7 separate regions of the Homo sapiens genome follow, and all the other regions are linked to region 3. The links are contacts of gene promoters, found by promoter capture Hi-C in blood cells and fetal thymus (Javierre and others, 2016). All regions are on one chromosome and are shown on one strand. The core of a region is centred on a gene start or on the middle of the fragment in contact, and the rest is flanking DNA. Distances in the headings are between cores, read along the strand shown.

The links. The method cuts DNA at HindIII sites, captures the fragments that hold promoters and counts their contacts. A CHiCAGO score of 5 or more calls a contact.
Region 1: a fragment that was not itself captured here is called in contact with the fragment with the promoter of PRDM13 in region 3 in 3 of 17 cell types (total B cells, naive B cells and fetal thymus); the score reaches 17.7 in total B cells.
Region 2: a fragment that was not itself captured here is called in contact with the fragment with the promoter of PRDM13 in region 3 in 3 of 17 cell types (total B cells, naive B cells and fetal thymus); the score reaches 13.5 in total B cells.
Region 4: a contact is called between a fragment that was not itself captured here and the fragment with the promoter of PRDM13 in region 3, in 1 of 17 cell types (total B cells). The highest score is 5.2, in total B cells.
Region 5: a contact is called between a fragment that was not itself captured here and the fragment with the promoter of PRDM13 in region 3, in 1 of 17 cell types (total B cells). The highest score is 5.3, in total B cells.
Region 6: a fragment that was not itself captured here is called in contact with the fragment with the promoter of PRDM13 in region 3 in 1 of 17 cell types (total B cells); the score reaches 5.5 in total B cells.
Region 7: a fragment that was not itself captured here is called in contact with the fragment with the promoter of PRDM13 in region 3 in 1 of 17 cell types (naive B cells); the score reaches 5.5 in naive B cells.

Annotation. Positions count from the first base shown.
Region 1 is chr6:100,468,745-100,471,857 of GRCh38, reverse strand. No RefSeq gene overlaps it. Among named protein-coding and RNA genes, the nearest start is that of SIM1, 5.4 kb to the right of the region's middle. The HindIII fragment of the contact is 2,343 bases long and covers 571-2,913 here.
Region 2 is chr6:100,450,719-100,454,072 of GRCh38, reverse strand. SIM1 (SIM bHLH transcription factor 1) reads left to right here. Exons shown (of 12, transcript NM_005068.3): 3 at 229-311. Among named protein-coding and RNA genes, the nearest start is that of SIM1, 13 kb to the left of the region's middle. The HindIII fragment of the contact is 2,455 bases long and covers 346-2,800 here.
Region 3 is chr6:99,605,583-99,609,036 of GRCh38, reverse strand. It overlaps PRDM13 (PR/SET domain 13), which reads right to left and starts at 2,204. Exons shown (of 4, transcript NM_021620.4): 1 at 1,859-2,204; 2 at 165-296. The coding sequence starts at 2,002. The HindIII fragment of the contact is 6,161 bases long and covers 813-3,454 here.
Region 4 is chr6:98,948,955-98,952,496 of GRCh38, reverse strand. No RefSeq gene overlaps it. Among named protein-coding and RNA genes, the nearest start is that of FBXL4, 2.8 kb to the right of the region's middle. The HindIII fragment of the contact is 1,419 bases long and covers 862-2,280 here.
Region 5 is chr6:100,433,123-100,436,505 of GRCh38, reverse strand. All of the region lies in intron 9 of SIM1 (SIM bHLH transcription factor 1), which reads left to right. All of the region lies in intron 2 of SIM1-AS1 (SIM1 antisense RNA 1), which reads right to left. Among named protein-coding and RNA genes, the nearest start is that of SIM1, 30 kb to the left of the region's middle. The HindIII fragment of the contact is 5,285 bases long and covers 1-3,383 here.
Region 6 is chr6:98,808,170-98,811,418 of GRCh38, reverse strand. No RefSeq gene overlaps it. Among named protein-coding and RNA genes, the nearest start is that of PNKY, 22 kb to the left of the region's middle. The HindIII fragment of the contact is 2,510 bases long and covers 338-2,847 here.
Region 7 is chr6:98,849,369-98,852,746 of GRCh38, reverse strand. It overlaps LOC124901364 (a long non-coding RNA gene), which reads right to left. Exons shown (of 2, transcript XR_007059690.1): 2 at 2,482-3,173. Among named protein-coding and RNA genes, the nearest start is that of POU3F2, 16 kb to the right of the region's middle. The HindIII fragment of the contact is 412 bases long and covers 1,385-1,796 here.

The sequences.
Region 1 (3,113 bases), core at 493-2,992, 860 kb before region 3:
CAAGAATGGTTCAACTGTATTTAAAACCAGACCCCACCTCAACCTCCTACCCAAGGATTTACCCACCTCAGAGCCAAGAGGGCCCCCACCCTCAAATCATTTGGGTTGACAGTTTCCAGTAGAAAAATGCAAGCAGCACTTAGGCATATGAAAATATGCCAAACCTCCCTAATAACAGAAAAAAATTAAAAATCAATTTTCATCTAGTAGACTGGGAAAAAAGTTAATAATGTGCTTCATTCGAAGATTGTAGGGAAACAGTCACCCTCACACATTGCTGATGAGAGTGTCAATTGGCAAAACTGTCATGGAGGGCAATTTAGCAATGTTTATCAGGAGTGCAAATCCATGTATCCTTCAATATAGCAACTCCATTGTTGGGAATTTGTCCCGTGGGTGTACTTGTACACAGGTAAATGACATGTGTACAGTTATCCACTGCAGCATTGTTTGTGAAGCAATAATGGGAAACAAACCTAAATGTCCTCAGTGGGTGAAAGGTTAAATAATTTATACTGGTATTTTCTGGAATGCTATACAGATGTTTAGGAAAGAAAGGATGAAGAAGCTTTCTGTATACTGTCATGAAAAGTGAAAAAAAATCAAGGTGCAGAACGGTGTGTGTAATATAAATCTTAATGTTTGCTTGAAACTCCAGAAGAGTAATAAGAAGCTACGTAGTTGTATAGCTGGAGACATAAATTGGTAGCCCAAGATCCACTTGCTTGGTTTGCATAGTGTTTTAAAATTGGATTTCACTTAATAATCTGGATTTCTAGGTAAGGAAAATAAGTGAAGCAGGCCAGGTGTTAAGATAAGAAATGGTGCTGGTAGTCTAATCGGTCTGGATTTTCCACTCGGTTTTAGGGTGGAGGGACTCTGCAGTGGGAGCCCTGAGGAGATGAACAGCTTCATTCCAGAAATGGAGCTGTGACTCATGGATAGAGATTGTCATCCCAAACCTCTCTCATCTGAAAGGGGCTTAGGAACCACTGCTGGGAAAAGGCATGCCCAGCATCCATATCATCCCAGGTGTACCTAGGAGCAGCACTGACTTATCCATTTCACACAATAGTCACAGTGCCTAGGGCCCATGTAGTTTTACGGCCTGAGAAAAATGTTTCACTGTTTATTTCTTTTACCATCAGAAGAAAAAAAAATGTAAGAATAATGAATATATGATAATGAAACCAATCTGAATTACACTCATCTGTTTACCAATGCAGTTGCAAAATATAATTTTAAAATATTTTCTTATGCAGGATGGAGCCATAAAAACATTACAAAAGTGCTTAAGGATCAACAAAGCTGTGTCATAACGTTGACCCTGCACAAGAGGAAGCCCTTGCCACTTGAGGGGAGGCCTAGACCACCCTGGCCCAATGCATCCAGGCAGGGCCCCCTCCTCTAGCGACCACTCCCCCTGCACCAACATCACACACACACACACCTTGAACCCTTTATGCCTAAGTGGTCTTGAAAAATGAGGGAACAGGTTTGAGGCCAAAAGGAGAACCAATGCTTGTCTGCTATATTTCCAGTGTGTCCCACCCCTGGTTGACTGAACCAAAGTCTCTGGACTTATTTCCAGCAACATAGCTGAGAACCCTGGAACACTGAAACATTGTGAGAGCACCCTGTGTATTTCCCTGCTCTTCTGAAGCCAAACTCCCCACGGAAGTTTGCCCCGGCTTCCTCTCCCTTTTTTGACACTAACCACTTTCCTAAGGAGGCAGGAATAAGCCATCTTCAGAGACCCCATCCTTATCACAGAGGACAGCCTCACTCCTGGGCCTCAACTAGACCGCCCTATCATTTTATGCTGTATGTTCAAGATCCCACAATACTAGGGACATCGCTTCGAATATTTTCCCTCCTCACAGTCTTCTACTTCAGAAGCAGGCTGAGAAAAAGCAGACTAAGGCAATGGTTCTTAAAGTGCGGTTCCCTCACCAGCAACATCACCTGGGAACCTGTTAGAAATGCAAATAAACTATTGGGTTCCACCCCAGATCTACTGAATCATAAACTCTGGAAGTGAGGCCCAGCAATCTGTGTTTTAAGCAGCCTTCCAATCAATTCCCATGCACGCTCAAGTTCCAAAACCGCGCTAACAGCAAAGGCGCCCAGATATTCAAGGGCAGATTCCCATGTCTCGGGCCCAGAGGCGGTGAGTCTAGGGTGGGACCCAGGCATGTGCCCCAGGCTTCCGAAGCACCGGGTCTCCGGCCCAGACGAGCACAGTGGTAATTTCCCGGGGTCCTGGGGTTGCGACGCGAAAGCGGGAGCAGCTATTGGAGGCTCACGACTTGGAGACGCAACCACCTCAGCGGGGCGGCGCCCCCAACGGGGTTAAGCTGCGACTGTCACTGAGTCTCGGGGCGGGTCCACGGCCCCTCACTGCGCAGCCCAGGGTGGCGCCGGCAACCCTCGCTCTGAGCTCATCTTTGCTCCCGCTTCCCCGCGTTCGGAGCTGCCTAGTGGCCTGAGGCCCTCCGCTCCCTTACGGAATGCCAATTCCCGATTCGGACAGGGATTTCCTATTCCTAAATCAAGGTGGGGCCTTAGGGTTTATATTTAAAAGCCGCCCTCCTCCCCCACCTCCATGCCAAGTGACCCCGAGTTTGGTCTGAAATTCGGGAACCGATTTAAGAATCAAAGTGTTTTTCAACCCGAGTTTCCAATCCAGTGTTCATCTCCAGAGTTAGAACGCCTCAGTTGAGTGCCTGTATTCAGCGTTGCTGAAATTTATGCACACACAGCGTCCTCCGCTCGATTTCTGGAAAAGAAAAGTGTGAAAGCGCAGGCACCTGGAGCGGCAGGCACCCACCTGCTCCCATCCTCAGAATGCACAGAATCAGACCTCTTTCCAGCTAGCAATTATATTTTAAAATAATTATATTCTTTAAAGCTTAAAATTTATGTCTGCAAATACAGTGGTGCACAATTCAAGAAGCACTTATTTCCCAGCGGCCGTTCAAGGTTATATATTAGACCACGGTTTCCAATATCTGGAAAATTAACCAGAATATTTAGAGAAACTATATGAAACCCTTACTTGTATTCGCCAATCTCATTTTCCAACTTGGTGCATTTTCTTTTTTTCTTTCTTT
Region 2 (3,354 bases), core at 324-2,823, 850 kb before region 3:
TGAGAAACCAGTTTTAGTTTAGAAGAGGAAATCTAACCTCTGCTGAGAAGCTGACAGGACGGACTGAAATGTACACGCTCCCATCCCCCGCTGTCCACTTTGAGAGGGATCCCCTATGGTATCCAGTCAAAGGGGCCGGCACTCGGGTAATACAGTCGCGGGACTTGGTCCCAAACTGCCTGTCAGGTCCGGGTTCAGTGGCTACAGGATGCTTCTGTGTCTCCACAGGGCTCGGCGAGGCGTGGGGCCACTCAAGTCGGACCAGCCCCCTGGACAACGTTGGCCGAGAACTGGGCTCCCATCTGCTCCAGGTACAGGTGCAGGTCTTCCGGCAACACATAAGCTTTGAGGGTCTGAGTGCCTGGCCCTGAGTTGAGCTTTTAGTTTCTCAGAAAACAAAAACAAAAAAAAAACAAACAACCCCCCCCACAAAAACAGGGATCCGGACTGCACGTGGCCCTCTCAGAGCCCAATAGCTGCTGCAAAGTAAAATTTTAGCTTTTGCAGATGATGCCTCAAGAGGCTGAGAGGGAGGCAAGGTGACAAGTGAGAAGTTGGGTTTGGAATGTAGCCCAACGAGGCCCCTAACCAAGGGAGGGGGCACCATTTGTCTCCATTGGGCTGAGGGAACTGGAACACCCCAGATCAGGCAGAAGAGGCAAGGCCACAGAACCATCCCAAATGAAGGATTTCCAAAGGAAATAACAGGAATCTGGTAAAAAGACCTGTCAGTGCTTTAAGCCCACGTCTTTCCAATTCAGCTACATCTGCAACTGGTTTTGTGTCCCTGTAGTGCCCAGGCTCCCTCTTCTCTTCCTATTGCCTTTCACTGCAAGCCAGCCCAGGCTGTGTGCAGGACCTTGCTTAAGCACATACACACCCCCAGATAATGAGTTTAACCAATGCTAGGCTCCCATTACCTTGTGGTTTGTAGTGCTCACAGTTTTAACTTGCTCTTTGCCTACTTAAGTCACAGAACAAATATTTTAAATTGCAAAACCCCGGTGGCATTTTTAGATTTTGCGCTTGTCCCAACCCTGCAACATCATCATTATTATTATTATTCAAGCCCACTGGGAGCTACTCTCCTGGAAGCCTTGAACCTAAGCAGCATTTGGGGAATCTAAGCAAGTTCTCCCTGTGGGCTGGCATGAGTGGCATCTCTTGACAGGAGCTCCTTTTCCTACCACTACCCTATACCTTTCTCCTTCCAAGACACCAAGAAGATTTTAGTTTTGTGGGACAAAGGAAGGGGTTGGGCAAGCATTCTCTCACTGACGTGGCCTTCACACCTTTGAATTTATCTAGAAAGGCACTTAACTCTAAGACATCTTCTATCAGATTTCCCTGTGTCCTTCCCCCAATATTTTCATATTCCCAACTAATTTTCCTCAGAAACATAAACAAGAAAACAAAATCCAAACTGTCCCTGACACTTTCCAGCTCTTGCCAATTTATTTCCTCTTCTTCATGCCACATTTCTGGTAGGACTGACTTACATTCCCAATTTCAATGGCCCACCCTCTCCCCATTTACTCCCTCATCCCTGCAGTCTGGCATCTCTCCCACCCATCATGCTCTTCACTGGCTTCACCACATTTTGATAGCAAGAATTAGATGCTCATCTCTTATCCTAATGAAGCTCACTCATTCCGCAAATTTAGGAGGGGCAATCGCATGCCAGATGGAAAGCCCTGCTCTCATGGAGTTTGCATTCTAAGGAGAGCAGCTTTACAAGCCCACACTGGTACAGTGTATAGTTTACCAGGTGGTATAGGTGCCATGGAGAAAAATAAGGAGGAGAGGAAGAAAGAGTAGTGCCTTTTAAAATAAGAGATGGTTGGAGAGGGCCGCACTGAGAAGGTGACATTTGGACTAAGACTTGAAGGAGGTGACACTGATGATTTAACATTCTCTCCTTCCCTCAGTTTCTAAAATAGCACTATTTCCCAGATTCTTCTCTCTCTCTGCCTGCTCCCTTTTGATTTCCCCACCACTGGTTGGCCTGCAAATGCTGTAATGTCCCCTAGGTTTCAGCTCTGTTTCTCCTGTTACAGCTTCAAGGCCACCCAGGTAATCTCACCCAACACCAGCCTCTCAACTCCTTTCTCTACATGAAACCAACTGGTTTCTCTAGTCTAGACTCTCCGTCTGAGCTCCAGATTTTTGTTTCCTACTGCAAACTGGACACATCTAAATGGAAATCTGCATACACTTGAAGTTTAGCATCTCCAAAACAAGGAGGCATTATCTCCCTCCCCCAGAATTCTACTCATACAAAATCACACTAAATCTTGGTTAATGATGTCACCTTCTGCTTAGTGCCTTCACTGAAACACTGAAGTAAACCTCTCTCTGCTACCAGTGAAGTCCATATCCAGAACCATCTTTGAATTAGATTCTCCCCTTTCTATATTCCCCTTGTGACTACCCCATTTCAGGCTTGACCATCTCTGCTGCAGCTGCCTTCTCTGATCTCCTCTTCCCCTCCCCTTCCTCCTCAGATCACTGTCTGCATTCTGCAAAACAAAATAAAATTAAACAAATGCCACATCTAAGCATGCTATTCTCCTGCTTAGAAACCTGTTAGAACTCTAGTGCTTACAGAGCAACTCCAGGTTTCTCAAATTGACATTTCAAGCTCCAAAATCTATTGCAGGTTTAGCTCCTCTGCAGTCTCTAGTACACCAAATTCATCACCTCAGAATACACTAGATTGGTCCTATCCCCAGACCCAGCAGACTTGGCCACTTCATTCCTTCTGCCTAGAATGCTCTTTCTCTCTTCTCCAGTCCAAGCTTCCTGTTCAAGGTTCTGCTCAAACATCAGCTCCCCTAAGGCCTGATTGTCCCCCAGGCCTCCGGTCACTCAGGCTCTGGGCCCCCTGCCTATTCAGCACTACCTGTTCAGCTATGTGGTCACTATATCTGTCTTCAGGCCAGTTGCTCCTGTTGGACTTCCTGCTCCTTGAAAGCAGGGTCTGACTCCTCTTGTCTCTGCCTGGACTGAGGCCTTATTCACAGAGATAGAGACAGTGAAAGTCTTAAGACTTTCCTTCATGGAGAGCCTGTCAGTTTGATGTATCAATGTAAACTTACACACACATACACCCTATGGCAATACTCTGTGGACTTACTCCTTGTAAAGCCTCTCATCTCCTAAACGCCCCCTGTCCTGGACTCTTTCCAGAGTCACTGGCCAGCTTTCTTCTGTCTACAAACTTTTGACTGCCAGCCCTTCCAAAATTGACTGACCAATGCCTACTGCACTGCTATTCCCAAACCCTGCTATTACTCCTTCCATTATAGAACACATAGGCTGTGATTTTTCCCCCTAGAACTGTGTGTGTGTGTG
Region 3 (3,454 bases), core at 955-3,454:
AAACGGAAAAACAATAGTAACTACCTTAAAGGGTTGTCGAGACGTTTAAATGAGACGTCTAGCTAAAGTACTTTGCTCTTAATATTTTTGGCCACCGCAGGGACGGTTAGGTAGACTGAATTGGCGGTGGGGAGTGGGGGGGTGTGGAGAGAAGCCCGCAGTACCTGTCCTCCGGGTAAGTCTGCAATAGCTTCCAGAGTCTGTTCCTGGGAGTTTCTGGCTGCCCGGATTAACCCTATCCACTCCAGAGGGGAGCCCCCCGACTCGTCCACCAGCTCCCCTCTCACCATGCGCACCTGCAACACAAGCAGTGGTCGTTCTCCCCCGCACCTTGGCCAGGCCCACAACCCAAACAGAAAGTTTATCCTCCACCCCAACCCAACACAGGAAAGTGGTTGTTTTTGGTTTGGCCAGACCACTATGGGCTACTGGGAGGAGGAGAATTCCTTAGGACCTTGCTTCGGGGAGGGAGAAAGAGGAAAGTCTACCTATGCTAACAGTACTCCCACTTCCCTGCGCCCCACCTTGACGACACGGGGAGGGGAGAGGGGTGTTGAGAGCATCCTCCCTGAGTGCTTAGGCACATCTTGTACCAAGTTGTCCCCTACCCCAGCTCTCCCATTTGCAGTTCTGAGAGCAGCCGTAACACCACGGTAGAGACATTTCTAGGTCAGTCCCAGGGCCCAGAGCGTACCCCCGACAAACAAACAAAAAAATTATCTCATGCCTCCTGTATTCTGTGTGCATCGCACCTAGTTGCCTGTGAGCCCTGCAGCTAAAGTCTCGGAACAAAGCCCAAGCGGGGAAAAGCTTGCCCGCAGCTGGCAGGCCATTTAAAAGCAATTAAAACGCGTTTAAAGAGGAATGCGCGGTGGGCACCAAACCCCGCTTTAGACTGTAGTGGGGGGCGTGATTGCAGGAGGAGCGAGGTGCAAGTCCCGCTGGCTGGACACCGGAGCTTTTTACTAGAAAGCTCCAAGCAAGGCAAGCTAAAGCCAAGGAAGCCAAAGTCCTTTCTTCTACCCCAGACTTCTGCCTTCATTTCCCGGTCGCTGTTTGCCGACCTTTGGCTCCTGGGACGCCCCCAAAGCGGGCGAGTGCTATAAGTCTCTCTGGTCAGGGGTCGCGACGGTGTGTGGAGTGTGGGAGTCAAAGCTAGTGGTTTGGCCCTGGCGCCTCCCGGTTGGGCCTCTGGACTCTCAGAGCCCCGCTGCAGACGCTCTGACCCTGTGCCCCGCGCGAATGGGCGCGCCTCGCCCTTGGAGCCCGCGTCAGAGCCAGTACCTTGCTCATCCTCTCTCCATATGCCGCATACCCACAAGCCGACATCGGCAAGGGAAAAAAAAATATCTGAGGAGGTTCTAGGAACTGAGAGCCTCCCAAAGATTTTTTTTTTCAGGAAAAAAAATTACTTTAAGGCGAAATTAGGCCTCAAATTAACATATTGAAGGGCAGAAGGGAAGAAAGGGTCTCGATGCCCTGAGCCCCCAGAAAGAGGGTGCTTTTGCAGAGAGAGCTGCGGACAGCGTGCGGGGGTGGGCTTCTGGCTTCTGACTGAGGAGACCCGAGAGCGCAGGGGAAAACACAAGCTGCGAATGGTCCCGGCACCTACAGCGCTCAGTGCACCCCACCCAGGGCTGTCGCCTCTCGGCCACATCCTCTCCTCTCAGCCCGACCCCGTCCAGCTCTCACAGTTAAAGAGGCTACTTGCTCAGAATAATAGGAGTCCCCTTCCACCCGGCAGAATTAGCAGGTAACGACTCAATCACTCCCTTCCTCCACTTTCTCTCGTACCCCTTTCCCGGGTCAGGGCACTGAGAGGCGAATGGCAGTGGGCAGAGGTCTGAATGGTCAATACCTTTTTCTTAGGCCCGGGCTCCCTGCGGTCTGACAGGTACTTGCCCAGCTTGAAGGTACCAGGCACCGGTCCGAGGCGCAAGCCGGCCGGGATGCAGCAGTCGGCACTCACGCTGGTGGCTGGCGCTCTGGCGGCTCCGTGCATTGTTGCCGCCGCCACCAGGCAGGCGCTCGGGTGCTCCAGGTCCTTGGAAGGGCGCGAGTGACAGAGCTGGAGCTGCGCGCTAGCCAGAGAGCCGCGCCCCGACGTGCGTCCTCCGCCCGCGGAGTGACGCGGGCGGGCATGCACTGCGCCTTTTCAATCGGGGCGGGAGCCTTTTGGCACCGCTAGCGCAAGGGCGCGGAGTTTGGTGAGAGAGTTGCGCTGCGAAGCAGCTGCAGAGTCCCACCCGAGAGGGTCACATGGAGTGGTTCCCTCAGCCCCCTGCATAATCGAGGCCGCTGAATGGCTAGCACACAATGGTCCAGGCGACCTTCCCATTCCTAAAAATCCAATTTGTCAAGGGCGAAGAAAAGGCACTGGTGAATCAAAGGTCCGGCGGGACCATTAATCCTCAGCATGGGGTATTGTCCTCCAGACAGTTACGATATTTTAAGTGACAAATCCACTGTATAATTTCTCCATAAATTTTACTTCCTTTTATTGTTCCCCGACAAACCAGTTTTGGGAAATAAGTGACTACTTTAAGTCTACTTGGCTGATTCCTTTGAGCCTTGATCTACTTCAAAGATTTTTAATTCTCTCCCCTTGGCTTTATTGTAAAGGAGATTAAACAAAGAGATGGAGACTGTTTGGAGGACTTGTTAACTACTATTGATTTCTGGCGTGTGCCATACAGAAATTAGGCAGGTACTTGATGGGAAAACACCAGAAAATACCTACACTTTTTAAATAACAACCATATTACCATTTCAGGGGATTGGGTTCAGGCCAGTCGTCTATTCAGAACCGCTTTAATTCTCACTTCTGTCCCATTTCGTCCGAAAATATGATGAAGCCTCCAGACCAAGTTGAGAAGGGGAGGTCAACTGCTCATCACTTTTCTCGGGCACACCCCGGGCCTGCACTTTCTCTGGAGAATGGGAAACAGCCCCAGAACCAACAGTTTCGAATGGGGATCCTGCGCCCCGGTCCGCAGCCCAGGGTTGAAGAGGAAGAAGTTCTACCAGTGGGTTATTGATCACGTCCCCTAGAAGATGTCCTTGGACTAACTTCCCTAAAACCAGCAACCTGGACTTTTCTATTAAAAAAAAAACAGTAAACAAAAACGAAAATCACCGCAATCTGTTAAAGGTTGTAGAGAAGAGGGGCGAGGTGGGCGTTTGGGACAACTCTTTCTTACACCTACTTTGTGAACTAACAAGACGTTGTACTTCAGAGTTAAACCGGAGAGCTACCCGTTTTCTTTTAGGGAAGCCTCCAATTGGCGTGAGAACATTTATTTTCATAAATAGTAGCCAAGTAATCAAGTTCATCAGATATTTGTGATTTCTGCCGGCACCTGCCGCGTGCTGCTAGTTCTGAGCACAGCTCCCCAAATCCTATGCAGCCAGCACCGGAGCCCGATGCAGTTCTTCCAAGAGAGGCCTGAGTGGT
Region 4 (3,542 bases), core at 322-2,821, 660 kb after region 3:
GACTGAATTTGAGCATTGAGTTGATGCTTATCAAATCAATGAAGTCTCACCAGCAACCATAAACAGATCAGTCTTATTTACTTATTATATTATTTTTTAATCCAGTTTTAATTTTACAATAGATTTAGATTTACAGAAAAGTTGCAGTGAATAGACTGACATTTACAGAAGAATTGCAATGACAATACAGAGAGTTCCATACATCACTCATCTAGTTTCCCCTTATTGTTAAGAGCTCATGTTACAATAGTATGTTTATTACAACTAAGAAATCAGCACTGGTGTGTTATTATTAAATAAATTCTACTCTTCATTCTAATTTCACTAGTTTTTCTACTAACGTCCTTTTTCTGTTCCAGGATTTCATTCAAAATATCATATTAGATTTTTTGAAAAGATAAGTAAAATCGACAAACCATTAGCCAGACTAAGAAAAAATGAGAAATGACCCAAATAAACAAAATCAGAGATAAAAAAGGAGACATTACAACTGATACCAGAGGAATATAAAGATCATAAGAAACTATTAGGAACAATGATATGCCAACAAATTTGGTAACCCAGAAGAAATGGATAAATTTCTGGACACATACAACCTACCAATACTGAATCATGAAGCTATAGAAAATGTGAACAAATCAGTAACAAGTGGCAGATTGAATTAGTATAAAAGGTCTCCTATTAAAGAAAAGCCCAGGACATGATGGCTTTACTTCTACCAAACATTTAAATAACAAATTGCAATTCTTCTCAAACTCTTCCAAAAAACTGAAGAGGGGGAAATACTGCCAAGGTCATTCTATGGGGCAGGCATTACCCTGATAGCAAAATCAGGCAAGGACACAACAAAAAAACAAAGCTTATAGGCCAGTATCCCTGATGAATATAAATGCAAAAATCTTCAACAAAAGAGATCACTAACGATGGTCAAGAAGGATTCATAGCAGACATGCAAGAATGATTCAACATAAAGCAAATTAATAAATGTGATACATCACTTTAACAGAATGAAGGACAAAAACCACATTGATCATTTCAATAGATACAGAAAAACATTTGACACAATTCGTTATTTTTCTCTGATAAAAGCTCAATGAATTAGGTATAAAAGGAATGTACTTCAGTACAATAAAGGCCATATATGACAAGTCCCCAACAGCTAATACACTGAATAGACAAAAGTTGAATGCTTTTCCTCTAAGAACCAGAACAAGACAAGGATGCCCGCTTTCTCACTTCTATTCAACATAGTACTGGCAATCCTAGCTAGAGCAGTTAGGTAAGAAAAAAATAAGGCATCTAAATTGTATAGAAGTTAAACGGTCCTTGTTTGCAGATGATATGACCTTATATATATAGAAAAACCTAAAGACTTTACTAAAAAAAACTGTTATAATAAATTTAGTAAGTTTGCAGGATGTAAAATCAACATACAAAAATCAGTAGCATTTCTATACACAGAAAGCACACTATTTGAAAAAGACATCAAGAAAACAATTCCACTTACAATGACTACAAAAACAACCCATAAAATAAAATACTTAGGAATAAATTTAACCAAGGAGGTGAAAGATCTGTACACTCAAACTATAAAACCTTGATGAAAGAAATTAGAGAAGATGCAAAAAATGGAAAGATATTCTGTGTTTATGGATTGGAGGAATAGTTAAAATGTCCATACCTACCCAAAGCAATCTACATATTCAATGCAGTCTCTAACAATATATCAATGATGTTCTTCCCAGAAATAGAAAAAAAAATCCTAAAATTTGTATGGAACCACAGAAAATCCTGGATAGAGAAAACAATGTTGAGCAAAAAGAATAAAGCTGAAGTCATCACAATACGTCACTTCAAAATATATTACAAAGCTATAGCAATCGAAACAGCATGGTAGTGGCATAAAAACAGACACATTAACTAATGGAACAGAATATAGAGGCCAGAAATAAAGCCACACATCTATGGTCAATTGCTTTTTTTACAAAAGGTGCCAAGAACACACAATGGAGAAAGGACAGTCTGTTCAACAGTGTTGGCAAAAACTAATGTCCACACGCAGAAAAATGAAATTAGAACCTTATCTCTCACCATATAGAAAAGTCAAGTCAAAATGGATTAAAGGCTTAAATTTAAGACCCAAAACTATGAAACTTCTAGAAGAAAGCATAGGGAAAAGTCTCCATGACATAAGTCTGGGCAAGATCTTATCTTTTTGGTTAAGATCTGAAACACATAGGCAACAAAAGTGAAAATAGACAAATGGGATAACATCAAGCTTAAAAGCTTCTGCATAGCAAAGGAAACAATCAAGTGAAGAGACAACCCACAGAATGGGAGAAAATATTTGCAAACTATTTATTTAACAAGGGATTAATAACCAGAATATTTTATATAAGGAGCTCAAACAACTCAATAGGAAAGCAAAAACAAAAACAAAAACAAAAACAAATAATCCAATTAAAAAATGGGCAGAAGATCTGAACAGGCATTTCTCAAAAGAAGACATACAAATGGCCAACTGGTATATGAAAAAATGCTCCTTATCACTAATCATCAGATAAATGCAAATCAAAACAATGAGATATCTCACCCCAGTGAGAATGGCTTTTATCAAAAAAAAAAAAAAAAAAAAAAAGCCAGGAACAAAAGATACTGGTGAGAATGTGGAGAAAGGGGAACCCGTGTGCACTGTTGGCAGGAATGAATATTACTAGAGCCACTGTGAAAAACTGTTTGAAGATTCTTCAAAAAACTAAAAATAGAACTACTATATGATTCAGCAATTCTACTATTGGGTATAGATCCAACAGAAAGGAAATACATATATCAAAGAGATATCTGCACTTCTATGTTTATTGCAGCACTATTTACAATAGCCAAGATTTAGAATTGACCTAAGTGTCCGCGCAACAGATGAATGGATAAAGAAAATGGGGTACATATACACAATAGAATATTATTCAGCCATAAAACCCTCCACAAAATCCTTTTATTTGCAACAAACATGGATAGAACTGGAGGTCATTATGATGAGTGAAATAAGCCAAGCACAGAAAGGCAAATAATGCATGTTCTCACTCATATGTGGGAGTTCAGAAAGTGGATCTCAGAGACTGAGAAGTATTGGGGGGGTGGGCCATGGGGGAGCAAGGGGAGGTAAACATACACTTAGAAGAAACATACACTTAGAAGAAATAAGACCCGGTGTTCCATAGATCAGTAGGGTGACTACAGCTAACATTTATCAATAGTACATGTCAAAATAGCCAGAAGAGAACAATTTGAATGTTCCTAGCACAAAGAAAAGATAAATATTTAAGGGGATGAGTAACCCAGTTATGCTGATTTGATTACAGAAATGAATCAAATTATCACATATACCCTGAAAATATGTACAGCTATTATGCATCAAAAAGTTGAAGAAAATAAAAATTTTAATTTTTTTGTATACAATGTATATTGCATATCATATATTGATTCTGTTCATATATAAGTAAATATCCTTACTGGTTTGCCTCATTGGAGCATTCAGACAGCAA
Region 5 (3,383 bases), core at 88-2,587, 830 kb before region 3:
ATAAATGTGTGTGAGTCTTTGGACCAATGGAGGGAAAGCATGAGTCTTAGGAAGCAGATGGTGGCCCAAGAACAAGAAATCAGCAATTATCTTGATGCATCTGGAAAGATCCTCCTTCAATTGGTTAGGACTAGTGGCCTTTAAGCATTCATAAAAGGCTTATTGAACACCTATTATGTGCCAAGCACTGTGCACAGTTCAGAGGACATCAAAATGAGTAAGACAGTGTCTGTAGGGAAAAGAAATAAGCATATGTCCAAGCTGTATCCTAGCCTGATTTCCCTGTGGGCTTGCTGGTAACTGAGATGCCTTTATGGAGGAAAGTACGTCCACTCACAATTAGAAGGAAGAGGGCCTAAAGCACCTTGGCACTGTTTGGGTCACTCCTGAAAAATGAGCTCACAGGTGTGGTTAGACTGCTTTCTGGCTAGATAGTAGGTAGGGAGGAGAGACAGTGGGAGGAGTTGGGCACCTTGGGAGGGGTGTGTGTGTGTCTGTGTGTGTGTGTGTGATGTGTATGGTAAGGGAGTTCATGACTGGCAGCAAGGTAACTGGCTACAGATTAAGGAGTTCAACTTTAACTCTCTCAAGGACGTTACCCAGGGTGGGCCCTGTTTATCTCATTGCCTCAGGGAGAGGGAGCAGTTGTGTTGATTTTTGTCCTGTTGGAATGATGTTTTGTCCTGCTGCAGATGGGATTTTTCAAAATTTTGGGGTTTGAGTTCTGATAGGATTATGAATCTCAGTGAATTTTTAAATTAAAGAATTCTAGATTCAAAATAGTCTTTGCAGATGTATTACATTTTGAAATATGTTGTCAATTATTTTGGATGTTTATAATTTTTTTTGCTTCTTTTTTCTTTTATAAGAGGTAATTCTCAGGTATTGTTCCTCTGTCTGGGAGAGACTGGGAGGTGGTTGTTAGCTCTAAGCTGAAAGAGGCGTGGCACATTGTTTTGTTCATTGCATGCTTAGGAAGGCTGAGGAGTAAGACAGACTCACATCTGAAGGGCGGCTGCTTTGTGTGAGAGGCCAGAGAAGCTAAGTGACTCAGCCAATACAACATAGCTAGTGAGTGGTCCAGCGAGCATACCAACCCAGGGTCTGGACTCCAGCATCCACCTGCTTTCCTCTTTGGCATGCTTTCTTTAAGTGGATAATGCTGTTTTAGGGTGAACCATATGAAATTGTCACTTCTATACATTAAAACAGTTCAATATTGGCAATTTCATATGATTCCACCTAATACTTACATAGTCATTTATGACATTTTGCCAATATTTTGCATGGTCTATGGACAGTTTACTCTCTTTTTTAATATGGGGTCTCCACAAAGTGACTCAGTTTCTTCAGAGTTTGGGTATACTTGGGACCTGCTCAATTGCCAGTCGATATCCTGAGCCCATCTCTTCTTCACTAATTTTAGCATCAACAGTCATGATGTTTTCACAAAACAACAATCAACGTGTCACCCACAGAAAATTATTTTATTTAGAACATTTAATATTTTACGAGGATTCAAATGGGAGCTGCTGTCTTTACTAGAAGAATATTTTTTCTTTGATTGATTGCTAAATGGATAGGGCCTGTGAATGGATCCTTCCCCCACCCCCGCTCCAGGGATTTCTTGTTCAAACAGAATTTGTTGTATCCGCATCAGTAAAGCGTGCTAATATGGGCTGATGGGTAGATTGTAGAAATAGCCTCATTATATTGAACTGGATATCATAATGGTACCCATTAAGGTGGGATTCTCTCTGTGTTTGTGCTTTTAAACCCAAGTCCCTTGCCACTTTTTACATCTCTCCAAGAATAGCAACATTCTCTGGTAAAATGCGATCTTAGAATGTGCTGTCTCTCACCTCTTCCTACTGAAAACCGTTAACAAAGGTAGAATCCCTGGTTCTGAGCATTCTTACAGGTTTGCGGCTGCTCTTCAGCCATTCATTTTACTCTCGTGCTTGTAATGACTATAACGTGTTCTTGTGACTGAACCAGGAGCTTCACTTGTTTCAGTACCTCCCATTAATTGATATTGGTGTCCAAACAAGCGACAGGCAAAGAGCTGCTTGTTATCAGATCAAGCCAAATGCAACACAGAGTTTTTCATTTTAATTTTGATAGGCCGTTAAGAGACTAATAGTGTTGGAAGGCACAGCATTTATATTCACTGTTGAAATCTTACCACAGTCCTGGCGTAGTGAAGTATTTGTTGTGTTGGATTTGGGTAATGGACCCTTGCAGGGTTACAGCTCAGGAATGCTAGAAGAATGAAGCCCACAAAGGGGAGGGCAGAGTGGGTGTCAATTTCATTCCTCCAATTAGAGCAGTTAAAGAAATAGCAACGTGCAGGATAGCATTTTATTGTGAAGGCTAATTGAAAACCAGGAAGAAAATATTTACAGACGTTACATGGCACTTTACAGAATAATCTCTTTTCTATTTGTGTCTCTTCTTGGTTGACTCAATAGGACCTTCATTACAAACAAATTTCTATCATTAGAATCAGCTTAATCTCTGTTGTTGTAATTAAGGTAACGGTAAGAAATGTTTTAGAGTGTAGTCATCTCTATGACAAGCTGGGGATGGTTCATGCATTCACTCAGCAAATATTTCCCTAGTGCCTACTGTGTGCCAGGCCCTGGTAGGGCTACAGTGTGGCTGAAAGAGACAAAGTCCCTACCCTCATGAAATGTAAGTTTTTAAATATATATGTATATGTAAAAAATATACATTATATGTGTGTGTGTGTGTGTGTGTGTGTGGGTGGGGGGGTGGGTCTTAATCTGTTGCCCAGGCTGCAGTGCAGTGGCAAGATCATGGTTCACCGCACCTCGACCTCCCAGGCTCAAAAGATCCTCCCACAGCCTCAGCCTCCGGAGTAGCTGGGATGGCATGCATGTGCCACCACACCTGGCTAATTTGAGTATAAATTTTAATATACTTATAAAGTACTTATAAAGAAATAAAAAAGTCATATAATATCAGAAAGTGATAGGAGAAAAATTAAGCAGGACAAAGAGGTAGGGATGGTCAGAAAGGTTTCTCTAAAGATTCATAAATGAAGGAAGGGAGCCAGCCATGTGGAGTCCTACAGGGAGAGTATTCCCGATGGAGGGAAGTGAATGCAAAGGCCCTGAGGTGGAAACCTGCTTGGCATGTTGAGGAACAGAGAAGGTCACTGTGGTGGCCACTGAGTAAGGGAGGGGGAAGAATGGAAGGAGATGATGCTAGAAGAATAGGCAGGGCCAGATCGCCTTGGATCTTGAAGGTTTTGGGAAGCCATTGGAGAATTCTGCACACGGGCATGACATGATCTGATTGTATAAGAAAAGATCATTCTGACTGGTTTGGAGAGTATGGATGGTGGAGATGGAGAATAC
Region 6 (3,249 bases), core at 343-2,842, 800 kb after region 3:
GGTGGTTGCTTGTTGGACAAAAACGAATGACTCCCTGTGAAGAATAAAGAAAGTGATGGAGAGAGAGTGAGAGAGAAAAAAATAGTTCACGAAAATCAAGCTCAGAGATGATTCTCTATGGGAACAGATGGGACTTACAGCTATAGGAAGCAGGTGGCAACAGAGGAGATGGACTTTATTTTTAGCCACCCTAAGTGGGCCTCTATGCACATCAGGTCAGGACTGTGGGTAAAACAGCAAGGGCCTCTGGAAGCCTCCTTGTACTGGTCATTGAGTTATTGTCAATTTTGTTTTTTCTTTTTAAAAACAAATTAAGATGATTTTTACAATTAAAGCTTACAAGCTGTGGGTGCAGTGTATAAGTAACTTGCTTAGGTTAGCATGATAAATTGGATTATTCCCTTTCCCCAAAGAGCCTGGAAACAGAAAGGGGAGTGGTCTGGAGTGCATGCCCAATTTTCCCCATCAGCCATCCATTCATCCATCCATCCATTCTTTCCTTCACAAATACTTATTGAGCACCTATGTGCCAGGCATCATTTTAAGCTCTATAGTTAACCCTGAATTAAGTATGGAAAGTCTTTGTCCGCATGGAATTTAAAGTCAGTGGGAACGGACAATAAACAAACAACCAAATAAATGTATAAAGAACAGATGGTTATAAGTTCTATGAAGAAAAATAAAGCAATGTAAAGTAGAGGTGTAGTGAGTTTGGTATTTTATATGATGTGCTCAGGGAAGGTCTTATTAAAAGAGTATTTAATTGGAGACCTGAAGAAGGGAGTGGTCATGAGAATATCTAAGGGTAGAATGCTCCAGATAAAGGGAAAAATATGAAGATCCTGAAGTAGAAGGTTGCTTGGAGGCTAAGAAGGACAGTGTGATTGGAGCAGAGAGGAAGAAGAGAAGTAACAGAGGATGAGCTCAAAGAAGTAACAGGAGCCAGATCATACAGGGCATTGTAGGCCAGTGGTTCTCAGAGTGTGGTCCCCAGACCCACAGCATCAACACAACCTGGAAACTTGTTAGAAATGCAAATGTTGGGCCCCATCCAGGCTTTCTTTAATCAGAGCATCTGGGTGGAGTCTAGAAATCTGTTTTAATAAGCCTCTAGAAAGTTTGAGAACGAGTGTTGTAGGCTATTGTAAAGATTTTGGATTTTATTCTGTGTGGAATGGGGTTATATTGGAGGGTTTTGAGCAAAAAACCCATAATCAGATTTTCATTTAAAAATGATCACTCTGGCTGCTTTGTTAAAAATAAACTATAGAGAAACAAAAGAAAGAAGCGAATAAATCAGTTGCAGATTACTATAATAGTCTGAGCAAGAAGTGATGGTGACTTGGGCTAGAATGGTGGTGACAAGTGGTCGAATTCTGCATGTATTTTGAAGTGAGAGTCAATGGGAATTGCTGATGGATCATATGTAAAATAAGAGTTAGCAGGTATATAGGTATAACTCCAAAGTTTTTAGCCTGAGCAACTGCAAGGATGGAATTGCTCCTTATTGAGATGTGGAAACTGTAGGGGAAGAAAGTTTAAGGGCTAAAATCAGGAGTGCATTTTGGTCATGTTAAATTTTAAAATGGCTATGCCAAGCAGGCAGTTCAGGGGAGTGGTTTGAGCTGGAGATAAAAACTAGAGAGTCGTCAGGGCATGTGTGATATTTAAAACCATGGCCTGGATGAGATCATCTAGAGGATGAGTATAGATGGAGAAGATGCCCTAGAGCTGAGATCTGAATATTTAGAGGCTGGAGGAGGTGAGGAACTAGCAAAGGAGACTGAGAAGGAGTAAACAGTGAGATTGGAGAAGAAAGGAGAAATGGTGCCCTGGAAACCAAATTCAGATTCAAGAAAAAGAGAGTGAGGCACTTGCCTTGGGTACAAAATTTAACAGGGGAACCAAGAAATTCAGTAATCAAGATAATCGATATCGTAATATAACATTAAACAATACAAATTATTAAAAAATCTATGATAAAATGTAGGGAATTATCTCTTATGAATCCCTTAAAACTTGGAGGATATCAGCCTGGAGTTGTCATTTTCATAAATTTTTTTTTTTTTTTTTTAGTTTTTTTATTCCTGAAAGTAAGTGGCTATTAGGATCATTTGTCATTTGATCCTAGCCATTTGATTTTTTTAGTTTAGTCAAATTAGCAAATGTCATAATTAAAATATAGTCAAATTAAATGTTTTATGTGATATGTTAGCTAAATAAATATACACTGATTAAATTTTTCATATTTCAGAGAATGATCTTAGTGACAGGTAAACCCAACCAGAGCGTGTGCCTTGGATGCTCTTTTTTCTTCCTTATTTTCTGCTATTATCATAGAAACCCTGCTATGAGAATGGGCTGAGGAAGTGCAGCCAAAGTGAGTCAGGGCCAGCCTGCCCATGGGAGCCTGAGCATTTCAAAGAAGTTGGAAGGTAGGAGCAAAATCTTAGGGCTATGCTAGATGACAATGCGGGGCATACACAATGCTGAGGAACTTACAGAAGTGTCGCAGGGCTAGACTAGTACAGACACAAAAGTTCTGCTTGAGAAGGGTCACAAACTGCTAGCCTGGGTTTCAAAGTGCCAGAATATACATATATTTTTTTGGAAACCACTAAGATGTCCATCTTTAAGGGAAACTATTCAAATCTCCGGTCTCTTAGAGATGATTCATCTCTAAGTCATTTTATACTTTTGAAATTTGTCAGTGATATAATGGGAGCAAAGTTTTTCCTGAGAGAAGACATAGGCTGTTTGTTTCTTGCAAAGGAAGTGAAAAATGAGGAAACCATCTGGCATTTGCTCAAAATATCTAGATAATTGAGGCCAAAGTATCTTTAAGCTTAATTTTACATCAATGAACATCCTTTATGACCCTTCCACGTTTGCTATGTAGAAAATATCTTAAGGAAAGAGTCTGAAATTTACTAACAAGAATTTTGAAATACAATGGTTATTAAGACTATTGGATTGTGTTCTCCATTATCCCTAGCAATTCTGCTGTCCTTGAATTTAATATATGTGTGTATATATATACATATTAATTAAAGAGACGTTCTTTAAGAATGTTTATATATTAAAAACTTCTGCTTTTATTAAAAATTTCATAGCATTGATCAGATATCTTCCACAGGTGATGTGATCTCTCTGCTATCTCTCAAAATTTGCATTTCAAAGCTGATTGATGGACTTTGTGAGGTGAAGTTGATGTCCTTTCTGTACAACAGAGTTGTAGGATGAATCTCT
Region 7 (3,378 bases), core at 341-2,840, 760 kb after region 3:
TATAATTAACAAATAAAAACTGTGTACATTTATGGTATATAACATTTTGATATATGTATATTTTATGATATGATTACATCAAGCTAATATATCATCCATCGGGAGGCCAAGGTGGGCGTATCACGAGGTCAGGAGATTGAGACCATCTTTGCTAACACGGTGAAACCCCTATCTACTAAAAATACAAAAAAAAATTAGCCAGGCGTGGTAGTGGGCGCCTGTAGTCCCAGCTACTCAGGAGGCTGAGGCAGGAGAATGGCGTGAACCCAGGAGGCCGAGCTTGTAGTGAGCTGAGATCGCGCCACTGCACTCCAGCCTGGGCGACAGAGTGAGACTCCATCTCAAAAATAAATAAAAATAAAATAAAATATAAATATATATATTCCATCACTTCATATAGTTGTTTATTGAGGTGAGTATATTTAAGATCTAATCTATTAGAAATTTTCAAGAATACAATACATTGTTATTAACTGTATTCATCATGATAAACAATAGATCTCTGTAACTTAGTCACCCTTTCTAACTGAAACTCTACCCTTTAACCAACATTTCCCCACCCCTACCTCCAGCCCCTAGCAATTACCATTTTACTCTCTGTTCTATGTGTTCAACTTTTTTAGATTCCCCATGTATGTGAGATCATGTAGTACTGTCTTTTGGTGCTTTGCTTATGTCATTTAACATAATGTTCTCTACATTCACCCATGTTGTCACAAATGACAGGATTTTCTTCTTTTTTAAGGCTTTGTAGTATTCGTGTGTGTGTGTGTGTGTGTGTGTGTGTGTGTGTGTTATTCCTTTATCCATTGATCCATTGATGGACACTTAGATTGATTCCATATCTTGGCTGTTGTAAATAATGCAACAATGAACATGGGAGTGCAATTATCTCTTTGACATACTGATTTTATTTCCTTTGAATATATATCTAGAAGTGGAATTGCTGGATCATAGGGTAGTTCTATTTCTTTAGTTTTTTGAAGAGACTCCATACTGTTTCCCATAATAGCTGTACTAATTTAATTTCCCACCAATAATGGACAAGGGTTCTCGTTTCTTCACATCCTCTCCAAAACTTATTTTTTCTCTTTTTTATAGTAACCATTCTAACAGGTGTGAGGTGGTATCTCCTTGTGGCTTTAATTTGCATTTTCTCTGATGATTAATGATGTTGAGCTTTTTTTCATACACATGTTGACCATTTATATGTCTTCTTTTGAGAAATGTCTATTCAGGTCCTCTGACCATTAAAAAAATAGGCTGTTTTCTTGCTACTGAATTGAGTTTCGTATATAATTTGGATATTAACCCTTTATCAGAGGTATGGTTTGCCGATATTTTCTGTTGACTCTGTTGATTGTTTCCTTTGCTGTGGAAAGCTTTTTAAGTTTGATGCAATCCCATTTGCCTGTTTTTGCTTTCCTGCCTGAGTGTTATGGTCAAATCCAAAAAAATCATTCTCCAGACCAATGTCAAGGAACTTTCACACTATTTGTTCTTCTAGTAGTTTTACAGTTTCAGGTCTTACATTTAATTCTTTAATCCATTTTGAGTTGATGTTTGTATATATCGTGAGATACAGGTCCAATTTCATTTTTCTATGGGTGGATATACAGTTGTCCCAACATAATTTATTGAAGAGACTATCCTTTCCCCATTGTGTGTTCTTGGCACCTTTGTGAAAGATCAATTGACTGTAAATGCATGGATTTACATATAGGCTCTCCATTCTGTTCTATTGGTCTATGTGTCTGTTTTTATGCCAGTACTATACTGTTTTGATTACTTAAGCTTAGCAACATACTTTGAAATCAGGTAGTGTGATGCCTCTAGCTTTGTTGTTTCTGCTCAAGATTACTTTAGCTATTCAGGCTCTTTTGTGGTTCCATACGAATTTTAGAATTTTTTTTTCTATTTCTTTGAAAAATATCATTGGAATTTTGATAGGGATTGCATTGAATCTGTCAATCATTTGGGGTCATATGGACATTTTAACAAATATCAATTCTTCCAATCCATGAACACAGGATATATTTCAATTTATTTGTGTCTTCAATTTCTTTCATCAATGTTTTATAGTTTTCACTGTACATCTTTCACCTCCTTGATTAAGTTTATTCCTAAATATTTTATTTTTTGGTTGCTATTATAAATGGGATTGATTTCTTCATTTCTTTCTCAGATTATTTTTTGTTAGTGTATAGAAATGCTACTGATTTTTTGTATGTTGGTTTATATTCTATAACTTTATTGAATTCATGTATTAGTTCTAAAAGTTTTTTGATGTAGTCTTTGGGGTTTTCTATATGTAAGATCATGCCACATGCAAACAGAGACAATTTTATTTCTTCCTTTCCAATTTGAATCCTTTTACTTCTTTTTCTTGCTTAAATGCTCTGGCTAAAACTTACAATACTATATTGAATGAAAGTGGTGAGAGTGGGCACTTTAGTCTTGTTTTTGATCTAAGAGGAAAAGTTTTCCATTTTTCATATGCTCTTTATTTAAAACCAGGTAATCTCAGTTACTTTACACTATATTCAAGAGAATATTGACATATTTGTATTCCACTGGCCCCTATTCAAATTGCCTTCCTTTTTCCTAACTGAAATCAATACAGTATACCACTCCTATCTTTTAAAGTCTAGGAAACCTTAGAAAGGGGTTTTTGTGTTTTAGGAAGTGATATTAAGTATAAACAAATGTCTTCTCCCCAAACATGACCTCTCATAGTTTTAGTTGACTGAATGTGTTAAACAAGGAAAGTTTAATGTATGTCTAAATTTCTTTAAAATAGACTCCTTTCTTTAGCTGTCTTAGAAACAAATAAACATTTGGATGAAAATATGTGGCAGAAGATACATGAAAAAGAAGTGATATGTCTCAAGCAGGTCTCATTCTCTAGCCTGGGTGCTGTTCTTCTATAAAAATTTCTCCACACCATGGATAGCACCTACTACAAATGAAAAATGTGAGACCTCAGATTCACGTACGTTTTTTCTTCCTTCACATTCTTGCAGTTACAGAGGTACCATTTATTAGCATGTATTCTTAATGAAATTTCCTGAATTGAAATTAAGTTGTTTTTACTAGGGTCAGCATTAGAGGTATTTCAGTAAATAGTTAAATGTTGCTGAAAAACCTGCTATCCTGGTGACTTCGTGATATTCCTGGGAGGGGGTGGGGGAGATGGAGGAAGGAAAAGAGAAATAAACTAGTAAAATTAGCACATCTAAAACTGAACACAATTTCTACAATTCTCTTTTGTTCTCATCTGTCTATGCTTGTCCATTTTCTTCCTTAAAAATGTAATCATGGTATCACCATTCTTTTGTCTTTTTTTCCCCCTACAGCCATTCAGGCACCAGTCATTTG